2 separate regions of the Homo sapiens genome follow, and region 1 is linked to region 2. Evidence: promoter capture Hi-C in 16 types of primary human blood cells and fetal thymus (Javierre and others, 2016). All regions are on one chromosome and are shown on one strand. Each heading gives the region's core, a stretch centred on a gene start or on the middle of the fragment in contact. The rest is flanking DNA. Distances are from core to core; before and after follow the strand shown. Region 1 holds the start of CLDN20 (claudin 20). Region 2 has its middle 62 kb from the start of SCAF8.

What was found. Contacts are between HindIII fragments. The CHiCAGO score rates a contact against its expected background, and 5 or more counts as called.
Region 1: a contact is called between the fragment with the promoter of CLDN20 here and a fragment that was not itself captured in region 2, in 3 of 17 cell types (M0 macrophages, total B cells and endothelial precursors). The highest score is 5.5, in M0 macrophages.

What each region holds. Positions count from the first base shown.
Region 1 is chr6:155,261,261-155,267,163 of GRCh38, reverse strand. CLDN20 (claudin 20) reads right to left here and starts at 3,151. Exons shown (of 2, transcript NM_001001346.3): 1 at 2,876-3,151. All of the region lies in intron 5 of TFB1M (transcription factor B1, mitochondrial), which reads left to right. The HindIII fragment of the contact is 9,121 bases long and covers 1-5,903 here.
Region 2 is chr6:154,667,857-154,674,413 of GRCh38, reverse strand. No RefSeq gene overlaps it. Among named protein-coding and RNA genes, the nearest start is that of SCAF8, 62 kb to the left of the region's middle. The HindIII fragment of the contact is 6,007 bases long and covers 1-4,525 here.

The sequences.
Region 1 (5,903 bases), core at 1,902-4,401, 590 kb before region 2:
GTCTCTATTAAAAATACAAAAATTGGCCGGGTGTGGTGCCACCCACCTGTATTTCCAGCTACTCAGGAGGCTGAGACACGAGAATTGCTTGAACCCAGGAGGTGGAGGTTGCAGTGAGCCGAGATCATGCCACTGCACTGCACTCCAGCCTGGGCGATAGAGTGAGACTCTGTCTCAAAAAAAAAAAAAAAAAGGCAGCAAAGTATTCTAGAGTTCTCTTCCCCTCTCCCACCACCACCCCAGACTATGCTTTAATGTCTCACTTTCCAGAACTGGCTCATTTGGTCATTCTTTTTTTTTTTTTTTTTTTTTTTTTTGAGACGGAGTCTCGCTCTGTCGCCCACCCTGGAGTGCAGTGGCACGATCTCAGCTCACTGCAAGCTCCGCCTCCCAGGCTCACGCCATTCTCCTGCCTCAGCCTCCCAAGTAGCGGGGACTACAGGCGGCCGCCACCACGCCTGGCTAATTTTTTGTATTTTTTAGTAGAGACGGGGTTTCACCGTGTTAGCCAGGATGGTCTCGATCTCCTGACCTCATGATTCGCCCGCTTTGGCCTTCCAAAGTGCTGGGATTACAGGTGTGAGCCACAGCGCCCAGCCTCATTTGGTCATTCTTAACTGTGAGCGAGACTGGGGAAGTTTGTATCTGGCTTTTCATCCCCCCTGGTGAGCTGTATCCAGCAGGGACTCAGGCTGGCTTTGTGGGTGTCACAGGGCTCTAGCTGCACTTCTAGTGAATTTAATCTCCAGGATTTGAGTTGACTGTGTGATACTTTCCCAAGCAACTAGGATTGTTCCCCAAACCTGTGATTCTCATTTCTGCCCACACGAGGGCTTTGGAAAAGCCCCAAGAGGCTCAGGCCCAACCCAGTGGCTTTTATTTAATTTTCTGGGATGGAGCCCCATCCTTGTATTTTTCAAATGCTGTCCATTTAATTCTAATGAAAAGTTGGGGTTCTGAATTTTAAAAAAAATGTTGTGATGGTTAACACTGAGTGTCAACTTGATTGGATTGAAGGATACAAAGTATTGATCCTGGGTGTATCTGTGAGGGTGTTGTCAAAGGAGATTAACATTTGAGTCAGTGAGGTGGGGAAGGTAGACCCGCCCTCAATCTGGGTGGGCACCATCTAATCAGCTGCCGGCTCAGCTAGAATATAAGTGGGCAGAAAAATGTGAAAAGAGAGACTGGCTTAGCCTCCCAGCCCACATCTTTTCTCACGTGCTGGATGCTTCCTATCCTCAAACATTGGACTCCCAAGTTCTTCAGTTTTGGAACTTGGACTGGCTCTCCTTGCTTCTCAGCCTGCAGATGGCCTATTGTGGGACCTTGTGATCATGTGAGTTAATACTTAATAAACTCTTCTTTATATATATATTTAATATTTACATATTATATATTAAATATATATTATATATTATATATAATATATATTTATATTATATATAAATATATTTAATATTTATATTTAATAAACTCATATATATATATTCCATTAGTTCTGTCCCTCTAGAGAACCCTAATACAAATGTTTTTTCTTCTTTGCTTTCCATTCAATCTTGAAAATAATGACAGTTCAGAGTAAGATAAAATAGTTACCTGTTCCAGCCCTACAAATTTAAAGTGATTTGACCTAATCCTAAAATAATGTTCTTCTTCTGTCCCAGCCTTAGGAAATTAACAGTATCAGCTATGAATATACGAATGTACTGACCAAGCATCTTCAGTGTGATGTCTAGTCCGTTTGATAATTATGGTTTATTATGAATTACTATATTTGTATGCATGTTCTATTTCTCAGTCTTTTAATAATATTACTAGCAGCATTTATCAAGTGCCTTCTGAGTTTGTTTAGATTGAGAGCCTCTCTGAGGTCCTGTCTTCTCTCTGAGGGACGGGAGTTGCTCAGGACCTGCAGCGCTGGGGTCCAGACCCTGGCAGTTGCCAATGTGCTGCCACACCCATGGCCCGGCTGGGCAGCCTCGAAGCTGCCTCAGGCAGCTCCTGCCACATCCACAAACCCAAGCGGGAGCACAGCCCGGGACAGGAAACACAGGGCACGTCCAGATGCTGCTGCTTCACAGACACCAAGGGCGTGGTTTGTGGAAAAGGCCTAGTTTTAGGAAGGTCTTTTCCCTCTGATCATCCAGGAACTCCAGATTAAATGTAACAGAAAACCTTTATACAACAATTGTCAGTTCTTGTTCCATTTGTGCTTTCTTGAGGATTACACGTGCATCTCCCTGAAATTGTTTAATCTCTTGGGACCAAGAGACACTGACTCATCTTGTTGTTGTTATTACTAATAGGTGTAATTTACATACATACATATGTACATTTACATAATTTACACAGTAAAAAAACTCTTCATCCCCCTCACCACATTTCTTAGTCTTATTTCTCTTGTGATCTGAGTTTGCTGTCATTCTCTTGGCCTCAGTTCTTCCTACCACATCTGCTCTGAGAGGAAACACTATGTGACTGTTTAAAATCTGTTCTTTTTTTATGATCCCAAGAAGAAAGAGAAAAAAACAAAGATCTGTAGGAAGAAAAAAGGGTGAGGACAGAACTTCTGCAGAAATAAATATTGTTACAATAACACAAATTGTAAACTTTAGGATAGGTACTGACCGTGTAGTTGATCTTTATTGAACCAGTTGGTTTGAAATACTTAGAATGCTGTCAGCTTTAAGGTTTTACAGTGGAAATTCTTTCCTTAAATTGGCTTTTGGACATGGATCACAGGTAGAGTGAACCAATTCCAGAAAATGTGATCTACATTCACATTTGTCAGTATTTTCTTTTTCTATGACATGCATAATTATCATATCACAGGCATCAGTGACTTGCTGCCTCTACCTGGGATTCTCCTTACCTGGGAAAGTTGTAACCTCGAGGCCCGTGATGTCCTAAAGTGGACTGTCATTAGCTTGGTGGAGGTACTTGAAGAGCAAGCAGACACTGGAGGGTGGGGAAACCAAGCATCCGGAGGCACTCATCTTGCTCCGTTGTTTTACCCGACAGTGAAGTGGCTCTCCCAAGCCCCTGTCCTCCTGCGTTCCATTTTGTGGTGCCTATAGCCTGCAAGATGCCATATGCTTCCTGTTCCCAACCACCCAGGTCTGCCCGTGATCATCCCACTTCGAACTTTGAATCCTTCTTATATGTTGTTCTTTAAAGTCTTACTGATTATTCCCTGTGGTCTTTTTTTTTTTTTTCACTAGCCCTTCTGTTGTCTTAAGTTATGGCTGTGTCTTGGCTATTTACATAGTAACTTCCTCATCATTTTTTCATCTCCACTATCTTGTCCTCTAATGGTCTTGAACACCGTGAGAGTGTTGAATGAAGACCCTTTTGTAGACAGTGGCCAGCATTGTTTCTGTGTCTGTGCATGTGGTCGTGACTTAGCTTTTGGGCATATGATAATCATCAGGAACTGAGTTGTACGTCTCTTCAGTGTCCTCTGTATATCATGTTGATTACAGTTCTCAGTTGTAATATCTAATATCTAAGATTTAAGATTTAATATCTCCTTAGCCCGGGTCCCTTGTGAGTTCCAAGTGCTGCTCTGAGCTGATAACCAGTCACGTCCTAGACACCCTGGCCTGGAAACTAGGACATCTGCCTCGGGCCTGTTATGGCCAAGGCTGCTAACACTGAGAAACAGTCTTAGCTTGTTACAGCGTTGACGTATAGGGTTAGAAAGGCAAATATTTAAATTCATTTTAAATCCTTTCATTTGAAATTTTAGTAGGTCATTTTGGTATACTGATGGACTGAGTTTGGAAAAGGCTGGCGGCATTAAACTAGAATATTTTAAGTACTTCTGATGCCTTTGTACTGATTTCTTTTTTGTAATCAAACCCATTAATAGACTTAAAACTCAAGGAAGAAAAAATAATACTTGTAATTTTAAATAAGCATTCAATTATAAGTAAAAAACATTTTTGTATTCGTTACCATAGTTACCAAGCAGCTTTCCTATAGTTCTAGAAAAAAATGGGCTCCATCATTCAGAGTAATTCTGAAAGGTGCCTTTGGGGGAAAGGGAGAGGAAGGGGTGGTACAGGAGAGGTCCTGGCCGTCCCAGAAGCAGGAGACATAACTGGAAGAGCTTTGTTGACGCTGAGTTTTACAGAATCTCCCACTAAATAGTAACTGCATTTGTGAGGGGAATTCTCTTTTAGCCGTGACATAATATAAGCCAACTTAACAGAGTATTGGAATTGTATTCAAACTTTAGAAGTCGACGCTATAGTTTACATGGGGTACTACTATATTTGTTCAGGGTTTTAAAACTTTATTTAAATCAAGCAAAAGTTAGACACTTCCTGTATTTGCAAATACCAACTATATCTCAAAGGAATGAAATCAGGCAAATAAAGATGAGGCCAAAATTTAAAATCTAAGGAAGCTGAAAGTGGCAGTTTCTGTACTGGAAGAGAGTGCATCTATCTCTGTATTTGTGCTTTTGGTCTTAATAGTTTGTAAGCCTTATGTAGAGTTTTGATAATATTTCATGGTTTTAGGCCTAGGCAGGGATTAGATTTTATCTCAGATTTTGCTAAGAGTATTTCTTCTGGAGACTAGCAGGCTGCTAGTAAGAATTGATAGAATTGGCTCTTTGTCACTGGGAGAACTGGAGTTGAAGGGTTACAGGAGATGAGTCCTGGAGAACGGGAGGCAGGGACAAGGGTGCCAGGAAGCTCAGGGGATGAAAGGGAAATGGAGAGTCCAGTGAGAGAAGGCTGGCGAGGTGTAGAGAGTGGCCAGACACATGCCTGACAGTTGGGACCACTTCTCTATACAAATCAGGAGGAGGCGAGGTAGGCAGGATAGTTCAGAGTTTGTGGGAAGGAACCTGACATCTGAAGTCAGTGGAGTGTGTCTTGGGCTGCTGCCTGCACTCTGCCATTCATAGATCAGGTCTTCTTTTTCCTTCCCCAGAACTGCCCTGAGCTGAAACCACCTTTCTTCTCTCCCTATAGCAGTACATCTACCCCACCTACACCCTGCATCCACTCCACAGCCCCTTGTCTTCTTCAGTCCCTCTTTCCCTGATGACCACAGACCTCTCCAAGCTGGGCACTGTTCTATGGTGCGTTTTGTTAAAGTCTAAGGGAAGTCCTGTAGGAAGAGGTAGTTGTTACTAAACTTGAGGAAACATGAAACAACATATAGCACACAATTCAAAAAACTTACTAAAATTTATTAAGAGCATTTGACATCTTAGTTAAGTCACTGTTCATAACTACTGTTCCACCATAGAATCTTCACAAGAACAGCCTGCTGGACTTCACAAGAAGGCTGATGGATGTTGGGGGTGGGCATTTGGGGTGTGGAAAGGCCGCTTGGCACATTCTCAGCATGCGCCAGCCCACACCGCCCCTTACCACCAAAGCCTTCTATTTCCCATTCCATCCAGTAGGAGCAGCTGTAGCTGACCTGAAACCTTCGGGGACAGGCTCATTGATTGTTTAAATAGGGAGGTGCAAGCTCTCAGGGGTCCGGGGCCTTGATGACACAGCTCAGGCACCACAGGCACCTCCCACAAGCGCGTCAGGCTGTGTGAGGCTGAGCACAGCTTATTTTCACTTTCTTGTCCATAAAGTCTCACATCATATTCAGTTGTTTTCCTTCTACCCTAAAAGAAACACAACCAGAAAAGCCAGTCTCCCATTTTCATCTGTTTAAGGAATTATGTAGCCACAAGGATCTTTAGAAGCAAGTCCTCTTAGGAGAAAATGACAACCTCTATGGGATTTCAACAATGGAGTTCCTTTTGAAAAGCAGTGGTGCAGCCCACACCTCCTAAATTGCCGTACTTTCTTCGCCTTTTGTTGAGTCTGTATGAGATCCTCATTAACAAGTTTAACAATTCCTGGAGACTGAGGCTTTTGTCA
Region 2 (6,557 bases), core at 273-2,772:
AACCCACGGAGACAAAGGTATTCTAGGGGTGTGAATGGGGGTGGTTGTGGCTGTCTCAGAGGGTTTTGTGAGTAGAGATGTAGCCACAAGGATGGTGTTAGATTAATGAAGCGGGGGCAGTGGGAGGTGACAGAAAGCTCAGTGATAAAATCCCGTGTAGTCACTGGATATTGGCTGGGGCTGGAGGAGGCCTCCAGGCTGCTCCATGTGGTCCTTGAGTTGGGGACATGCTCTGCAAGTCCTCAGATATGGTCAACACCCTCTCTGAGCTGCCAGGAAGAATTAGGTATGTGCAAAGAACAAGATATTGAGCAACCCAGTGTGGGACAGGAGGCTACAGACACCGAAGCTGGTCACAGAACTTGATGAACCTTGCACAGTTATCATTTCTGCAAAGCTGGTGGAGTTGCTGTTATGGCCTCGGTGCAGCAGGAATGCAATGGTTTCTGTTGTCTGATGATAGAAATACAGGTTCCAGCTAAGGAAGTCAAACCAGAGTTGGGTTTTTGTGGAGAGATTTTTGATTCCTTTTTAATTTTTTTTCTTAAGGTAATAACAAAATTTAAACAACAAAAAATAGTATAAATAATAAAAACTATAGTCTTTCTTACGCTGTCCTTAAAGATAACCACTTTTAACTCATTCAGCTTTTTGTTCTTTCAGTTTTCTTCACAGGTCTAAGTACTGTGCTAAAATCACTATCTGTAAAGGCATCAATTTAAATAAATATTTACTGACTTTCTGCTCTGATACATGAGTTTTCAGCTCACTATTTTTGTGTCTGTCTTGTAGAGGGTATAGATGGGTAGTGTTGTTTGGCCTGCATGCTGTTGAAAAAACGTTTGAGCCAACATTTAAAGGATCAAGTTAAATAAAAAAATATAGATTTTCCTACTTCTCTTGAAAAATCCTCAAATATTTAAATGAGGTTTGCATTCTTTTATGGCAGCTGTTGACCTGAGCTGAATAACGACTGTCGGTCCCTCAGATTTCCAGTTTCCCCAGATGTCCCCACTCCTTACTGCTCTTTAGTGCTGAGGCTGAGTGTAAATTGACATTTCTCATCATTGGTCTCTTTCTTTTCTTTTTTTTTTTTTGAGATGGAGTCTTGGTCTGTCGCCAAGGCTGGAGTGCAGTGGCGCGATCTTGGCTCACTGCAACCTGCACCTCCCGGATTCGAGGAATTCTCTGCCTCAGCCTCCCGAGTAGCTGGGATTACAGGCGCCCGCCACCACGCCTGGCTAATTTTTTGTATTTTTAGTAGAGACGGGGTTTCACCATCTTAGCCAGGCTGGTCTTGAACTCCTGACCTTGTGATCCACCTGCCTTGGCCTCCCAAAGTGCTGGGATTACAGGCGTGAGCCACCATGCCCGGCCTCTTTCTTTTCTTATAGCAAACAAAATATTTCCCCGTACCCATGTGGGAAAATTACAAATTGACAAAGCAAGTCCAATAGTCTTTCTCACATCAGAGTGTGTTTCATGCATGGGTTTAGCTGCCTGCCATGGTTTGCATTTACATTTGAGACCGTTGGTTGTTCTATTTGCTGTAATCATAACCTGAAGCAATGTACTCCTAACAGTAGGGAAAGTGGGATGCTTCCTCTCTTCATTTTGACTGAGGTGCCAGTAAGATATATGCCAAAATGGATGTGAAGCCAAGTCCTGTATGCAGATTACAAAGGAAATGGTCAACATCCGGTTTAATGACTCTCAAGCTCCTCTTTACCCACTACTTCATGGAGAATATAGAAGCGCTGGAGTGGAGAGGATGAGAGCATTGTTCGAGGAAGGTTTCTTTGGAGAAGGTTGACTGTGAGCCTCATCCACATATCCCACCAAGGGGCTGAGACAGAGATCGCCTGCCTCATTTCCTCAAAATAAGCATGGACTTTCCCTGGACCAAATGGGGAGGCTCCCAAAGTATCCCCGGGGATTTGAGGGACAGAGTGGACTAGTATCTAATTCCTATTCCTATCAAGTCTGAAGGTCAACAAAGGTTAGATGGTGAGCCAGAAAGCAGCTTGGATGATGGAATCCGAGAGGGTGGCTGTTGCGCTCAGGAATAACTGCATTCTCCTCCAGTGGCCACTTAATAGGAGCATGAGTGTTTGTGGACCACATGGCAGAGTGAACCCTGGAGCCACTTAAAGTCCTGCCTAAGAGGACAGACTGGGAATGTGATGGATGCAAATAATCAGCCTCCTTGTTAAGTGAGTTGCTAGAGGACCAAGGGTTGAGTGGAGAGAGGTCAGCTGAAGGTGACGCACCACTCACATCCTAGGTACTTCACCCAGAGAGACCCTCCTGGGTCAGCCTCTGCAAGTGCCATGAAAGAAAGAGACAGTTTTAGGCATCTACCAGAACCTGTTGGGCAGTTATAACAGTGGTAAGTCTATTACCTGGCAGTGAACAGAAATGTCACGGGATTAGTCCAAGATGTCATCTGGAGCAGGAGAAGTGGAACATCACTGAAGACATTTGCAAGGAGCAATGGAAAAATAAAGCACATTTTGATCACATCCCATGAATTGTGCTAATTTAGCATATTAGTAACTTGCTTTTACTTTTCTTTCTAGAATCATCACAGGTCACTTTATAAAATGAGGCTATTAGCACTTCCTCTCTTCCTCGGAACCGCTGCCATCTGCATTTAACTCCTGAAATGCCAATGTTAAAAACATAACATAACTTCTGTAAGCATTACTATGTCTTTAATGTCTTTTTGTTGTTGTTGAGACAGGGTCTCACTCTGTCACCCAGGCTGGAGGGCAGTGGTGTGATCACGGCTCACTGCAGTCTTTACCTCCTGGGCTCAAGGAATCCTCCCACCTCAGCCTCCTGAGTAGCTGGTGTGCCCAGCCAACTTTTGTATTTTTTTGTAGAGACAAGGTTTCATTATGTTGCCCAGGCTGGTTTCTAATTCCTAGGCTCAAGTGATTCACCCGCCTCGGCCTCCCAAAGTGCTGGAATTACAGGCGTGAGCCACCGCGCCCGGCCAATTTTTGTATTTTTTTATAGAGACAGGGTTTCACTATCTTGCCCAGGCTGGTCTCTAACTCCTAGGCTCAAGTGATTCGCCCGCCTCAGCCTCCCAAAGTGGTGAGATTACAGATGTGAGCCACTGTGCCCAGCCTAATGTTTATACCTTGATGAAAATATTCCTGATTTTGGCTAGAAGGGTATAGTTTGTAGCAGACCATGCTCCCATCAAGGAAATCTAGAAAAACCAGATATAATATCAAAAACATCTGCTGGAAGGCACTGAGGCAGTAAGGACTCAAGGGAAGAATATTGGAGATAAGGGTGGGTCACTGAGATGAGCGTCACCCTCTGCTTGCAGTTTGATCCCTGAGTCAATGCCAGTTCTTGGCACTAACAGAGGTTTCGAAGTTGGTTAGAAGGTGAATGCTAAGAGGCATCAAAGTGGTAGAACTTCCATCAATCTCACGAGGCACAGGAGGTGAACATTGGAGTTTTGGGGCTGCCAGAACAGCTGAGACTTGAGGGTACAAACTCCAGGGAGTGCAGAGAAGTAAGCCCAGTAAAGGCTGCATACCCATTTCCTCCTTGGGGCCTCTACTGATTCTTAAGCTGAACAAGGTTAGAGTTGGAGAAATCGAACAGAAAAGGTTGAAAAGCAGAGTGGAAGCCTCATGGCACTGAGGTAAGGAGTCAAAATTTGGAGCCAAGGAGGAAGTGTTCTAGTAAACACACTAGGCTTCATTTGCAGGGCTAACTCCTAGGAGTGGGTTCAATTTAGAGGAAGGCTAAACCTTAAAAAGATTGCAAGACAGCTTCAAAGCTCTATGCACTGAATGTACTGAGGTGATGTACACCCACTCCTGCTGCCTGCCAGAGAATAAGGAGAAACCTCTTGATAGAAGATAACATCATCCAGAGCCTCTGCAGTTTTTCTATAGAATGTCTGACATTCAATAAAATGTTGCTGACTGGGCGTGGTGGCTCACACCTGTAATCCCAGCACTTTGGGAGGCCCAGGTGGGAGGACCACTTATGCCCAGGAGTTCAAGACCAGCCTGTGCAAGATGGTGAGACCCAGTCTCCACAAAAAAAGGAAAAAGTTAGCCAGGCATGGTGGTGTGTGCCTGTGGTCCCAGCTACATAGGATTCTGAGGTGGGAGGAGGATGGCTTGAGCCCAAGAGTTCGAGGCTGCAGTGAGCCATGTTCATGCCACTGCATTTTGCCTTGGGCGACAGAGCAAGACCCTGTCTCAAAAAAAAAAAGATTGTGATTAATACATAGAAAATATGGAATTGAATGGTTGCTTTAAATTGGAAGTATAACTTACATAGAGAAAGGGGCACAAATCTTAAGTGTGAATTTTACATATAATAAAATTTCATAAATGCATATACCTTCCTAACCAGTGTGAAGATCAAAATCTGGAACATGTCCGGGACCTCAAAGGGCTCCTTCCCTGCCTGTCTCATCTAGTATTCCACCGATGGAGCAATTATTCTCACGCTTATCACCTTGTATTAGTTTTGCTGTTCCTAAGCTTTATTTAAGTAGAATCATACAGTATGCACTCTCTTACTTTTGACTTCTTTCATTCAACATTATGTCTGTGAGATTCATAGTTCTTTCTACTGACAGTGCAGAATATACCACAAATTCTTTGTATTAATATTCACAATTTATCATTTTTACTCTTGGTAGACATTTGAGTTGTTTCCAATTTTAGGCTATTTTAAATAAAGCTTCCACTAGCTTTCTTGTACATGTCCTTTGGTGGACACAAGCACTCCTTGCTGCTCAGCGTATATTTGGAAGTGAAATTGTTGCATCAGAAGGGGTATGTAGATTTAGCTTTAGAAAGTACTGCCAAGCATTTTCCAAACTGGTTGTACCTACTTATGCTTCCAAGAGCCATTTAAGAGAGCTCCAGATGCCTAATTTTCTTACCAAAATTTGTTATTGTCAGTCTTTTTTTTCTTTTTGAGGTGGAGTTTCGCTTTTGTTGCCTAGGCTGGAGTGCAGTGGCACAATCTCGGCCCACTGTAACCTCCGCCTTCCGGGTTCAAGGGATTCTCCTGCCTCAGCCTCCCCAGTAGATGGGATTAAAGGCACCCACCACCACGACCGGCTGATTTTTGTATTTTTAGTAGAGATGGGGTTTCACCGTGTTGGCCAGGCTGGTCTCGAACTCTTGACCTCAGGTGATCCACCTGCCTTGGCCTCCCAAAGTGCTGGGATTACAGGCGTGAGCCTCTGCGCCCAGCCAATTGTCAGTCTTTAAAAATTGTAACTATTCTGTTAGTAGATAAAAGGTACTGAATTGTAGTTTTACTTTGAATTTCTGTGGTGACTGAGTGTTGGCACCTTTTCATATGTGTGTTATTTTAACAACCTCTTTGGTTAAAGTGTCTGATTAAGTCTTTTAACCATTTTAAAAATGTGATTAACTGTCTTTTTCTTATTTATTTATAGGAGTTCTTAACATATTCTGGATATGAACCCATTGTCAGTTGTATATAATGCAAATATCTATTCTTTCAGTCTTGCTATTTCATTCTCAATTTTAATGAAGGTCAATTTATCAATCTTTCCCCCCGCCTTTCCCACATGTTCTTACAATATATCAATCTTGATGGCTAATTCTTTTTGTGTCCTGTTTGAGAAATATTTTCCTATCTTAAGGTCACAAAGATACTCTACTCACTTATGTTTCCTTCTAGAAATTTGATTGCTTATGTCTATGATCTATCACAATATAATTTTTGTGTGTGACATGAGACAGAGGCAAGGTTATTTTTGTTTGAATATCCAAATATCTCAGCTTCATTTATTCCAAGACCATCCTTCTTCAGTGAATTACAGAGGAGTCAGGTGGCCATTTAGGTTTGTATCTGTTTCTTCACTCTATTTAACTACACTGGTCTAGGGACCCATCCTCGTGCTAATACCACACTGCCTTTTGACCTGTGAGATGTGTACTTCCCTCAGTTTTCTTCTTCTTCTTCTTCCTCCTTCCTCCTCCTCTTTCTTCTTTTTCCTTCTTCCTTCTTCCTCCTTTCTCCTCCTCCTCTCCCTCCTCCTTCTTTTTCTTCCTCCTCCTCCTTCCTCTCTTCCTCCTCCTCCCACTCCTCCTCTTCCTCCTCCTCCTCCTCCTTCATCATCTTTGTCTTCTCCTCCTTCTCCTTCTTGTTCTTCCATCCCTGCTTCTGGTTCTTCTTCTTTCTTACTTTTTTTTTTTTTTTTTTTTTTGAGATGGAGTCTTACTCCGTTGCCCAGGCTGGAGTGCAGTGGCATGATCTTGGCTCACTGCAACCTGTGCCTCCCAGGTTCAAGCAAGTCGCCTGCCTCAGACTCCTAAGCAGCTGGGATTACAGGCGCCCACCACTACGCCTGGCTAATTTTTGTGTTTTTAGTAGAGACGGGGTTTCTCCGTGTTGATCAGGCTGGTCTTGAACTCAACCTCAAGTGAACTCCCGAATGCCTGCCCCAGCCTCCCATAGTGCTGGGATTACAGGCGTGAGCCACCACGCCTGGCCTTGTGATTGTGCTTAATGCCACTGCACTGTACATTTAA